Linked DNA regions of Homo sapiens: region 1 is linked to region 2. The links are contacts of gene promoters, found by promoter capture Hi-C in blood cells and fetal thymus (Javierre and others, 2016). All regions are on one chromosome and are shown on one strand. Each heading gives the region's core, a stretch centred on a gene start or on the middle of the fragment in contact. The rest is flanking DNA. Distances are from core to core; before and after follow the strand shown. Region 1 holds the start of RNF182 (ring finger protein 182). Region 2 holds the start of NOL7 (nucleolar protein 7).

Evidence for each region. The method cuts DNA at HindIII sites, captures the fragments that hold promoters and counts their contacts. A CHiCAGO score of 5 or more calls a contact.
Region 1: a contact is called between the fragment with the promoter of RNF182 here and the fragment with the promoter of NOL7 in region 2, in 3 of 17 cell types (non-activated CD4 T cells, activated CD4 T cells and total CD4 T cells). The highest score is 8.7, in non-activated CD4 T cells.

What each region holds. Positions count from the first base shown.
Region 1 is chr6:13,922,149-13,926,897 of GRCh38, forward strand. It overlaps RNF182 (ring finger protein 182), which reads left to right and starts at 2,804. Exons shown (of 3, transcript NM_152737.4): 1 at 2,804-2,875. RefSeq lists an enhancer at 1,699-2,199. The HindIII fragment of the contact is 2,801 bases long and covers 2,229-4,749 here.
Region 2 is chr6:13,612,479-13,617,113 of GRCh38, forward strand. NOL7 (nucleolar protein 7) reads left to right here and starts at 2,857. Exons shown (of 8, transcript NM_016167.5): 1 at 2,857-3,146; 2 at 3,234-3,294; 3 at 3,985-4,043. The coding sequence starts at 2,881. SIRT5 (sirtuin 5) reads left to right here. Exons shown (of 10, transcript NM_012241.5): 10 at 1-2,680. LOC124901263 (a long non-coding RNA gene) reads right to left here and starts at 2,724. Exons shown (of 2, transcript XR_007059461.1): 1 at 1-2,724. RefSeq lists an enhancer at 2,070-2,239. The HindIII fragment of the contact is 25,604 bases long and covers 1-4,635 here.

The DNA of each region.
Region 1 (4,749 bases), core at 1,554-4,053, 310 kb after region 2:
TGGCATCTTTATGAGTTGGGGAGCATTAATAAGGTAATTACATTTTAACTAAAAGTTAAGAAGAATAGCTAACTTTAGATTTCTTAATGATATTTTGCTATAAACACTAATTCTAAAACAGAGCTGTCCAAAATGTCACATATATAATTTATAATTTTCTAATAATCATGTTAAAAAAGTGGAAAGGAACAAAAGTTAATGATTTTAATAACATCTTTTATTTAACTCAATAAATTCAAAATATATTTTAACATGTAACCAATATAAACATTATTAATAAGATATTATTTTTTTAAAGTTATTGTTCCAAGTCTTTGAAATCTGGTGTGTATTTTGCACTTACTGAACATACCAATTCAGTAGCTAATTCATATGTGGCTAGCAGTTACTGAATTAGACTGTGCAGCTCTAGATCTTTTTAGGAAAGCAAATTCATTATTTTAACCTCATTTCAAAAATGGTGAGAATAAGAAAGACTAGTCATGTATCCACACATTAATTTTTAAGCTTTAGTATCTTCAGTTTCAGTTTAGCTAAACAGACTAAAAGCTGCCACTTAACCTATTCAAATGATATCCCCTGGTAAGTAAGGTGGCACATTTTAAGATGGTTTCCTGACAAGTCTTTTAATTTTCTCCAAGAGGCAGAATGGAAGCAGACCTTAAGATAAAGCTAAACCTCTTTTGGAAAAATGAATGTCTGGAAGAATGTCTCACAGAATAACGCAGGACCAGGTCACTAAGCAATGCTCTAAGTGGGGACACAACGTGGACTTTTCCAAGCCTTCAGCTGAGGGCAGGGATGGCCAAGTCAATGGTCCCTCCCTGTTCTGTATTCAGTTTTTGATCAGGCAGTAATGTGCATGCAGGTCAACAAACATTTATTAAAGCTTTTTGTTTTTGCTTCTTCATTGATAAATTACTAATAAATGCTCATTTGAAAAAGCCAAACAAACCAAATATGTGTACTAAATTGTACATCGTAAGAGGTAACTGTCCCTTCAATTTTTTTTGTAGTTAACAGGTTACCACTTCTAGCAATTAGGTAGGCATTCTTATAGACCTTTATCCCTATGTTTTTGTTCTGTTCCTATATATCCAGTTTTTTTGTACAGAATGGGATCACCCACACATACGGTTCTGAGCCCCCCTTTTCCATTTAATAAGAAATCAATATCTATGAATTTTATATATTTTATTCTTATTAATGGATGCATAGTATTACATGGTATGAAGTGCCACATTATTTAACCATATCACTATTGATGGGCATATAAGTTGTTTCAAACATTTACTATTACAAAACTTCTGCAATGCATATCCTTTTATATCTATCATTACACATTTGTGTGTTTCTGTATGACAGATCTCTAGAATTGAGATAGCTGGGAGAAATGTATGTGCATTTTGAATTCTGGCAGGTATTGCCAAATGCTTAATGGCCTGCCAAAAAGACCTTGTCTTTTGACTTCATCTGGAATATTATTGACTTCATTCAGAATATTCCCATTACAAGAAAGTGGCCAGTCTCTCCGAGGAACAAACTGTTTTCCTTTTCCACCATGAAATAGATCTTATCTTTTCATTAGTTAATATAGGTGTACCTTCAAATGGCAATAACATTGTTCTGCTTTGTGGCTTCTCAAGTAGTAAACCCAGAAAACATCAGCTACCGTGGATTTTATTATAAATCATTGACATTCCTTTGGTGATTCACAAATGCCAAAAAATAAATGTCATGTTCCCCAGGGTTTGAAGAAAGACACTGTAGCTTTTGGATTCAGCAACGGATCTTTCAAGAAAACAGTATGGAGGGATGACTCACTCCCCCCATGGAGGCTGCCCTCTAGTTCGTCCTTTAGAGGAAGCATGACCAAGGGTCTGCTGGTACTTTTCTCTCCCTCTCTAAGAATTTCCTCAGGAGAGGAAAAAGTTAGCTTTCTTTTCTCTGCTCCTGAGTGCCATGGCCTGCAGTACGTGACCAGTCCTTGGCACAGAGTCACTCAGGGCTCATGGTAGATGCTTAGCGGTCACAGCCAGTAGCTGCGCAGTGTGGCAGCAGCTGAGATCCATACTGCAGCCTGAAAGTTGTGTTTCAGCTTCTGAGGTTACAAGTGTATCCAGTGTTTACATCAGAGATAAAGCCCCCTTTCCCCTCTCTCCTACGGGAGCCCTCAACAAGACAGATACACGGGTTGGGTGGAGTGAGACCACATCCAGCAGAGGCAAAGCTTGCTAAAAGAGAGAGGAGGAGGAGGGGGAGAGGGAGGAGGCGGCACGGCGTCCCTTGGCAGCTCCGTGCATGCTGCGGCAGTTGCAACAGGAGAACCGAGTACCAGTTGCTCAACACTTTATCACTTTGCATTGCTCTTTCTCCTCCCTTAAGTGAATTTCCATTTTGAGGGTACAGCTCCACAGGAGAAAGGTGTGGTGGTGGTAGTGGTGGAGGGTGTCTGTGGGGGGGATGGTGGTGCGACGGGAGTTGGAATGTCCAGTGTGGGGAAGCAAAGGAGTGCCTACTAGGATGCGAATACCACTTGGCCCTGGGCTCGCTCCGCTTTAGCCTTCCCCTCTCGCTGGGGAGAAACAGGCGGTTTGTGAGGGAGACTGAGAGAGGGGCGTGTTTGTGGTGGTGGCGGCCCATCGGGGGTCCTTGTCCTCTCCGAATACCCGGACTGCTGAGGGGAAGGGCCGGGGGGGCCCCGGCGGTTGCCATGGTGACGCAGGGTCGGCGGCTCAGCGCCGTAGAGACAAAGCCGCCCGCCCGCCAGCCCGCTAGCTCCTCGCGCGAGCTCCTCCTCCACGGGAACCTCCCTCCCCTCCCAGGCGCCGCCGCAGCCGGAGCGGCTCCCGGGCCCTGGGCCGCCGCCGGCCAGGTAAGGCGATCGCGCCCGCGGCCGGGGAGGGGTCGGCGGGACGCCGGGCCTCCCCAACGCTGGGGCAGCAGCCAGCCCCGCAGTCCTGGACGGCGCCGGGCCGCCCAAGCGCGCCGAGGAGAGGGGGCGGCAAACTTCGGGCCGAGCGGCGCCGGGGCCCGCGCGCGGAGTCTCCCTCCGGGCACCACGGGGGCCGCCGTCCTGGCACCAACTTGAGGGGCTGTGCGGCGGAGGGCGGCTGCGGAGCGCCCGCGCGGGCTGCACCTGCTCAGGGAGCTGCCCCTCTGTTGTTGTTGTTATTTTCCTTCTTGGCGTGCCATCGAGGCTTTTGGGGGAAAAAAAGGTATGAAAGTATTTACCTTTGGACTTTCATGTTTCATGGCATTCTCTTTGAGGAGGGGTTGGGAGGGTAGTAAGAGGGACAAGCGAAAGATTTTTACGAATCTCTGAAAAGTGAGCCCATTTTTATGCCTGTGGCTGAAGCATTTTGAGGAGGCTTCTGAAGTTCGTTTGGATATTGAATCGAAAGACCTTTTTTTCTTTGGAAGGTGCAGTTGCACCTATAACTGGATGGTAAGGGTAGCCCGGCTTTCCCCGACTAGCAAGACCAGAATGTAGAGCAGTACCGATACTTTGTCAAGGAGATACTTGGCACCGAGGTCATTGCTTTTGTTTCTAGAAGGTATTGTGTTCATGCTGTAAGGAACTGGAAAGTGCCTTTTGTTTTTATGTGTAGGGAGGCAATCCAAAGCACCTCTGGAGGCAGGTAGCTGGGCGGTGTTTGCATCGGTGTTTATGAGTGGGATGATGAGGACCACGATGCGGTTGCCACTGGGGCACTGGATAGGTTATAGGTACCTTTCTCAGTGGCCCCAACCCTTGCAATCATTTCGTGATAGTTTGTTGCAGACGCGAAGCACAGATTTAAATTGTGACTGTGAAGACTTTTTTTTTTGGTACTTAGACATCATCTTACATGTAGTAATATGAAAGAAAACAGATACATTTTCAGAAATACAGTTGATCAATTCAGAAGGAAATTGTATATATGTTAATAAGATTTGTTTTAAATCATATTTAAACAATATGAGATGTCATATTGATAACTGGAAAATAATCTAACATATAAAATTGTATATCCAACTTAGTAAAATAATGTATAAGTTGGAATAGGTCATTTAAAGAACTATATGGAATGCAAGAAATTATATTTTTGCTAGAGAGTAATTAATGAAAACAGTACCACTGATCATTTTGAATTGCAGTTAAGTTGATTGGAATTCTGCATATTACAGCTACTTGAGGTGTCAGGCAAAGAGTGATTATTTAATATTCCTCTTCCCTCTTTTGGGATTTCAACACCTGTTAGCCTGCTGATTACTAGGTTTCTCAGTCTGTTCATATTTGCCAGCAACTTCAAGTAATGCCACTTCATTAGAAGATTGTATTGGAAACTAAAGGATTGAAGTTGCAATTAACAGTTTGCAGGTTATTTCACAATTGGGCTTGTTTTTAAACTGAATTTTACCTGTGGAAGATTCACAGATGCTCTGCTAAATACTCTTTCATGACGGTAATAAAATCGTACATTGATTAAAACGAAGTAGATCTGTTTTGAGAAGATAAACGGGAGAGAAAAGTATTTTCTCACTTAAGCATGAACAGCAAATAGGATATTGAAGCCTAGGCACATTATATAGACAGAGAATGTAGTTTTATGTTTTGTACTAAAAATAAATTATTTTGTGTGTTTGTGTGTGTGTGTGTGTTTTTTTTTTTTTCCTGAGGGACCAACAGAACAGCTTTATTCAGATCTTTGTTAGCAAAACCAGTATTCAAGTTCAAGGACTTGGTCCGTGCTTTCTGCCAGATGA
Region 2 (4,635 bases), core at 1,607-4,106:
TACAGGTATGTACCACCACACCCAGCTAATTTTGTATTTTTAGTAGAGACGGGGTTTCTCCATGTTGGTCAGGCTGGTCTTAAACTCTCGACCTCAGGTGATCTGCCCGCCTCGGCCTCCCAAAGTGCTGAGATTACGGGCATGAGCCACCGCACCCGGCTTACTGGGGGCTTTTTAACCTTGTTTGGCTACATTACCTCAGTGAACAAGGGGAAGCTCACAACAGGAACTCACACAAAGAAGGAAGAGAACAGTACCAACAAGGTAGAACATCACGATGAGAAGAAAGAATGATGCAAATATGTGGACCCCCAGGATAAACACAGCTGCCCAAAATTTAGCTCTGGCCCCCTTAGATGGGGGAAGTCAACAGTGAAGTGTTTCTCAGCATCATAAAGGCAGAAGCTGTGGTTCCTGTGGGGCCTGCCAACCGTTCCCAGATGCTGAACTCTGCTGGGAGTTTTTTCCATGGGACTTTAAAAAATGATGCCCTTAGGTTGGGCCAGACCTCTGTTAACTTCAGTAGGGATGGCACCAGGTTCAAGAGGCCAAAGAAGAGACCTGGAGCTAGTGAAGGAAACATAGGGTTTATTTGGGGAACCTTACAGGGTGGTCCAGTGGCCGCGGGCTGGACAGAACTGCAACCACTTATAAAAAGCATGCAGTTTACATAGCACTTTCACTCAGCACCCTCCCCTCAGCAGCCTCCACGTGGCAACCCTCACTTCTTAAGTTATTGCTGTCAGATGCATCTGCCATACAGGGTCATTCTCAGGGGATGCTTAAGTTATTTCTGTCAGGTACATCTTCCATACACTTTACTACCTTGGAGTAAAGTAGTAAGAATACAGCTTTTTCCTTAACCTTTACCAGCTAACTCAGTGCTTAGGGGCCTTGGAATGCCTGCTGTCCAGCAGGTGTCACAGGCCTGACTGGGAGGCATGGCCATTATCAACAGTGTATGAAGGTCACATATGGCTCCCTGAAGTGATTACATACTTGGACCACATCACCTCAGCCCCTTGCAAAATTGCATTTAATGTTACACCCTTGGCTTTTGTAGAAACAGGCAACAAGACACTATCATATAAAACTTTGTACTGCATTGCAAGGCATAACCTTTAATAAATCCCAGTGGTCCTTTGTGTAGGGAACGGGGATGCTCATAGCCTATGGGGCGGCTGGAGAACCAGTCAGGGACCCTGAGGGCTCGATGTACACTTTACATGGGTGGGCCAAGGAGTTTACACTGAGGGCACTGGTAATACCTGTAATAGTCTTATAGTACTTATAAAGCAGTTTTGCACATAAAATACCATCATGCACTTATAAGTTTGTTCTTGGGCTGCTCCAAGTTAACTTTATTCATTTTCCTAGTGTTAGTGTCTCAGGGAGTCTGATTATATTTTTGATTTGTAATTTCTATCTGACTAAGGCCTAGAGATTTCAAAACTGTTCTTTGCAATTCCTCTCATACTGAACCTCTGGTTCAGCAGCTTTTTTTGTTGTTGTTGTTTTCAAGTTTTATCATTTTTGTTCCTATTTGGTTTTGTCGTTTTTAAATTGAGAATTGCTTCTAAAACAGAAGACATGAAAAGAGAATTAAAAATACAATATATGTGTAAGATAGAATTATTCAACTTAGCATTTATTAAACATCTACCAGATGATAGACATTAGAAATAAAATGACTAGCAAGACCTGGCCCTTCCCCTCAGGGGTTCACAGAATGGCTGGAGCAACTGTCATATAAGCTGTTATGAAGTGCAGAAACTACACAGACATTTGTGCGGGTTCAGACCAGCGCAATTAGAGATGGGCAGAGTGGGATGGGGTAGGGGTAAGGTGCTTGAAATTTGCCTGGGTGGGAATTTTTGAAGTATAAAAAGGACTTCTACCTGGGGGGCTGCGGCAGTAGAGGGAAGAGCACGGTCGGTACAAATGCATGGCAGGTGTGAAACAGTTTGATTTGTTCAAAGAATGATGAATCACTTAGTGTTGTATAATGGATGGGAGGAGAGAAACACAGCGATCACAAAGGGCCATGTTTGCCAAGAAATAAAATATACTTGGAAAAAAAGTACGTATGTGTATATACCACAAAACTCGGGTGCATTCTCTAGGGACCGGCGAAGCCATTCTTTCAGGAGATATGCTCAGCATTTGCCACGGGCCAGCTGCTGTTCCAGGTCGTGGGTTAGGGCCCGGCACCAGGAAGGGCGCCCCTCCCACAGGGCCGACATCCTAACCGGCGTCGCTGCGGCCGCGGAGCTGGGAAGGCCGAGGGCGCCGGGCACGTCTGTGCAGATTTCTTTAGAGTCCAGGTCTGTCGCCCGCGTCTTCGTCGGTGGCAGCAGGGCTGACTGGCCACGGCGGCCATCTGCTAGAGCGCATTTCTTCCCATGAAACGCCACCTCCTCCGAAGTGCGGAGCGAACGCAGCCAAATCTACACAAAGACTGACAAGCTGGATCCACTCGACGGAACCCAGGGCCAAAAAACGGCGGCGAGCAGCGCCTCGGGCCCGCGATTACCGGTTTTCTGAGCACCGGACAGCGTGAGCCGTGCCAGCCCTGTCTCGCCATCCCAGCCGAGGAGGGCAGCGCGATGGCTCTTCCCTGCCTTGAAATCAACCCCATTGCCAGCCGCTTTCGCCGGCAGAGCATTTTCCGTGGGGTCCATCCGGCTCCAAGGCGGCCTGCGCTGGCCACGTGGAAAGAAACACGCCCACTGCCTACAGGCCACGCCCTTCCTCCCTTCGCGCATGCGCCCCACCCGTCCTGAGGACCTCCGAACCTGCAGGGGGCGATGAAAGTAGGCTTGCGCTCCGCTTGTAGCTGCTTCCGGGTCAGAGGTCAGACGGTCTAGCGCTGCGTGGGCCATGGTGCAGCTCCGACCGCGAGCGTCTCGCGCCCCGGCGTCGGCGGAGGCGATGGTGGACGAGGGCCAGCTGGCCTCGGAGGAGGAGGAGGCGGAGCACGGGCTGTTGCTCGGGCAGCCCAGCAGCGGCGCGGCCGCCGAGCCCCTGGAGGAAGACGAGGAAGGGGACGATGAGTTTGACGATGAGGCCCCGGAGGAGCTGACTTTCGCCAGCGCCCAGGCGGAAGCGAGAGAAGAGGAGCGGCGAGTGCGGGAGACCGTGCGCAGGTTCGGAGCCCGCTGCCCGGCGGGGAGAACCGCCCTTTCTCGTCCCGCTTGTCCTTCCCTTTGCTGACTTATCACCCTTCCTCCCAGGGATAAAACGCTCCTGAAGGAGAAGAGGAAGCGACGCGAGGAGCTGTTCATCGAACAGAAGGTTAGAGGCTAGGGAGGAGGTGTCTTATTAAAACAACTCGGCTCAGGGAGAATTCCTATGGTGGATGTAATTTGGGTTGGCAGGATATTGGAGTGGGGAAACAGTCACCAAGATTGCCTCTGACAGTGGTGGAAAGATGCTCGGGCCGGGCGCGGCAGTACTTTAGTTGGACGAGGTGGGCGGAGCCCGGGATGTCGAGGCTGCCTGGAGCCGAGATCACACCACTGCGCTCCAGCCTGGGCGACAGAGCGAGACCCTGTCTCAAAAAAAAAAAGTTCGTCTCCTTTAGTGTCCACCAACTGAAAATAAGAGGTTGCTGTGAGAATTAAATGAGGTGATTTGTAAACTGTAAGGGCTGTACAGACTTAGTGTATGGTTGCTTTGCTGTCTGATACTCGACACAGAGAGCTGGCTCCAGGCAGACATTACTTAACTGCTTTCAATTTATAACAGTGACCTGAGGGTTAGAATACCGTGGGCACCCTTTCTAGTTTTCATCAAGTCTTTCAGAGAATGTGGAGTTTTGTGGACCCGGTCTTCCCATAGCTTAGAGGTATGGGGGCAGTTTCCAGCCTAATTCATTTCTTTGCCTAGATGTAGGGCATTCTTAAAAGCGGTAACTTCAGAAGCAACTCCGGACATACTATGTACATGACTTTCTATTAATTTTAAACGTTTTCATTCCAAAAGAAAAGAAAACTCCTTCCAGACACTATTTTGGAGAAGTTAACCACAGCTTCACAGACTAAGTAAGTAATGGATCTTTTTATATTACTTGCTTATATACACCCATCTTTGAATTATATACTGGTACATTTATTTGAATCCATATAACTGAAGGAATTGTAGAACCCAAATTCAAAAGCTACCTTGGTATATGAATTTGATGGGAAAGACGGAGGTAACGTTCTACTTCTTATTTTACCATTTATTTTTGTTCATTCCCATAGCTAGCTTTTGAATTCCTGATCCCATTGTGTTCATTCAGTACATTTTGTTGACTGCCTGTCATTGTACTAGGGCATAGTGGGTGGTGGTGAATAAAAAGTGTTTTGAATCATTTAGTGGGGTAGCAGGCACTTATCCACAGGCTCTGAAAACTTGATTTGTCCCATACTTGCCTTACCTGCCACCAACCTGTCCTTCCTGTTCCCCACTTCATTTAGCATCTTTGGTGTTTTATGGTTTAAAGCGAAAAGCTATAGTCGTCTTTGGGAATTGATCAAACCCTACTAAATTTAGCCTTCTAAATTTTTTTTTTTCTATCCTCTTTTTCTCCCCTTAAGGCTTTAAATTCAGAAATTCAGCCCCCTTTTGCTTAGGCCAGTGACTCTCAAGTTT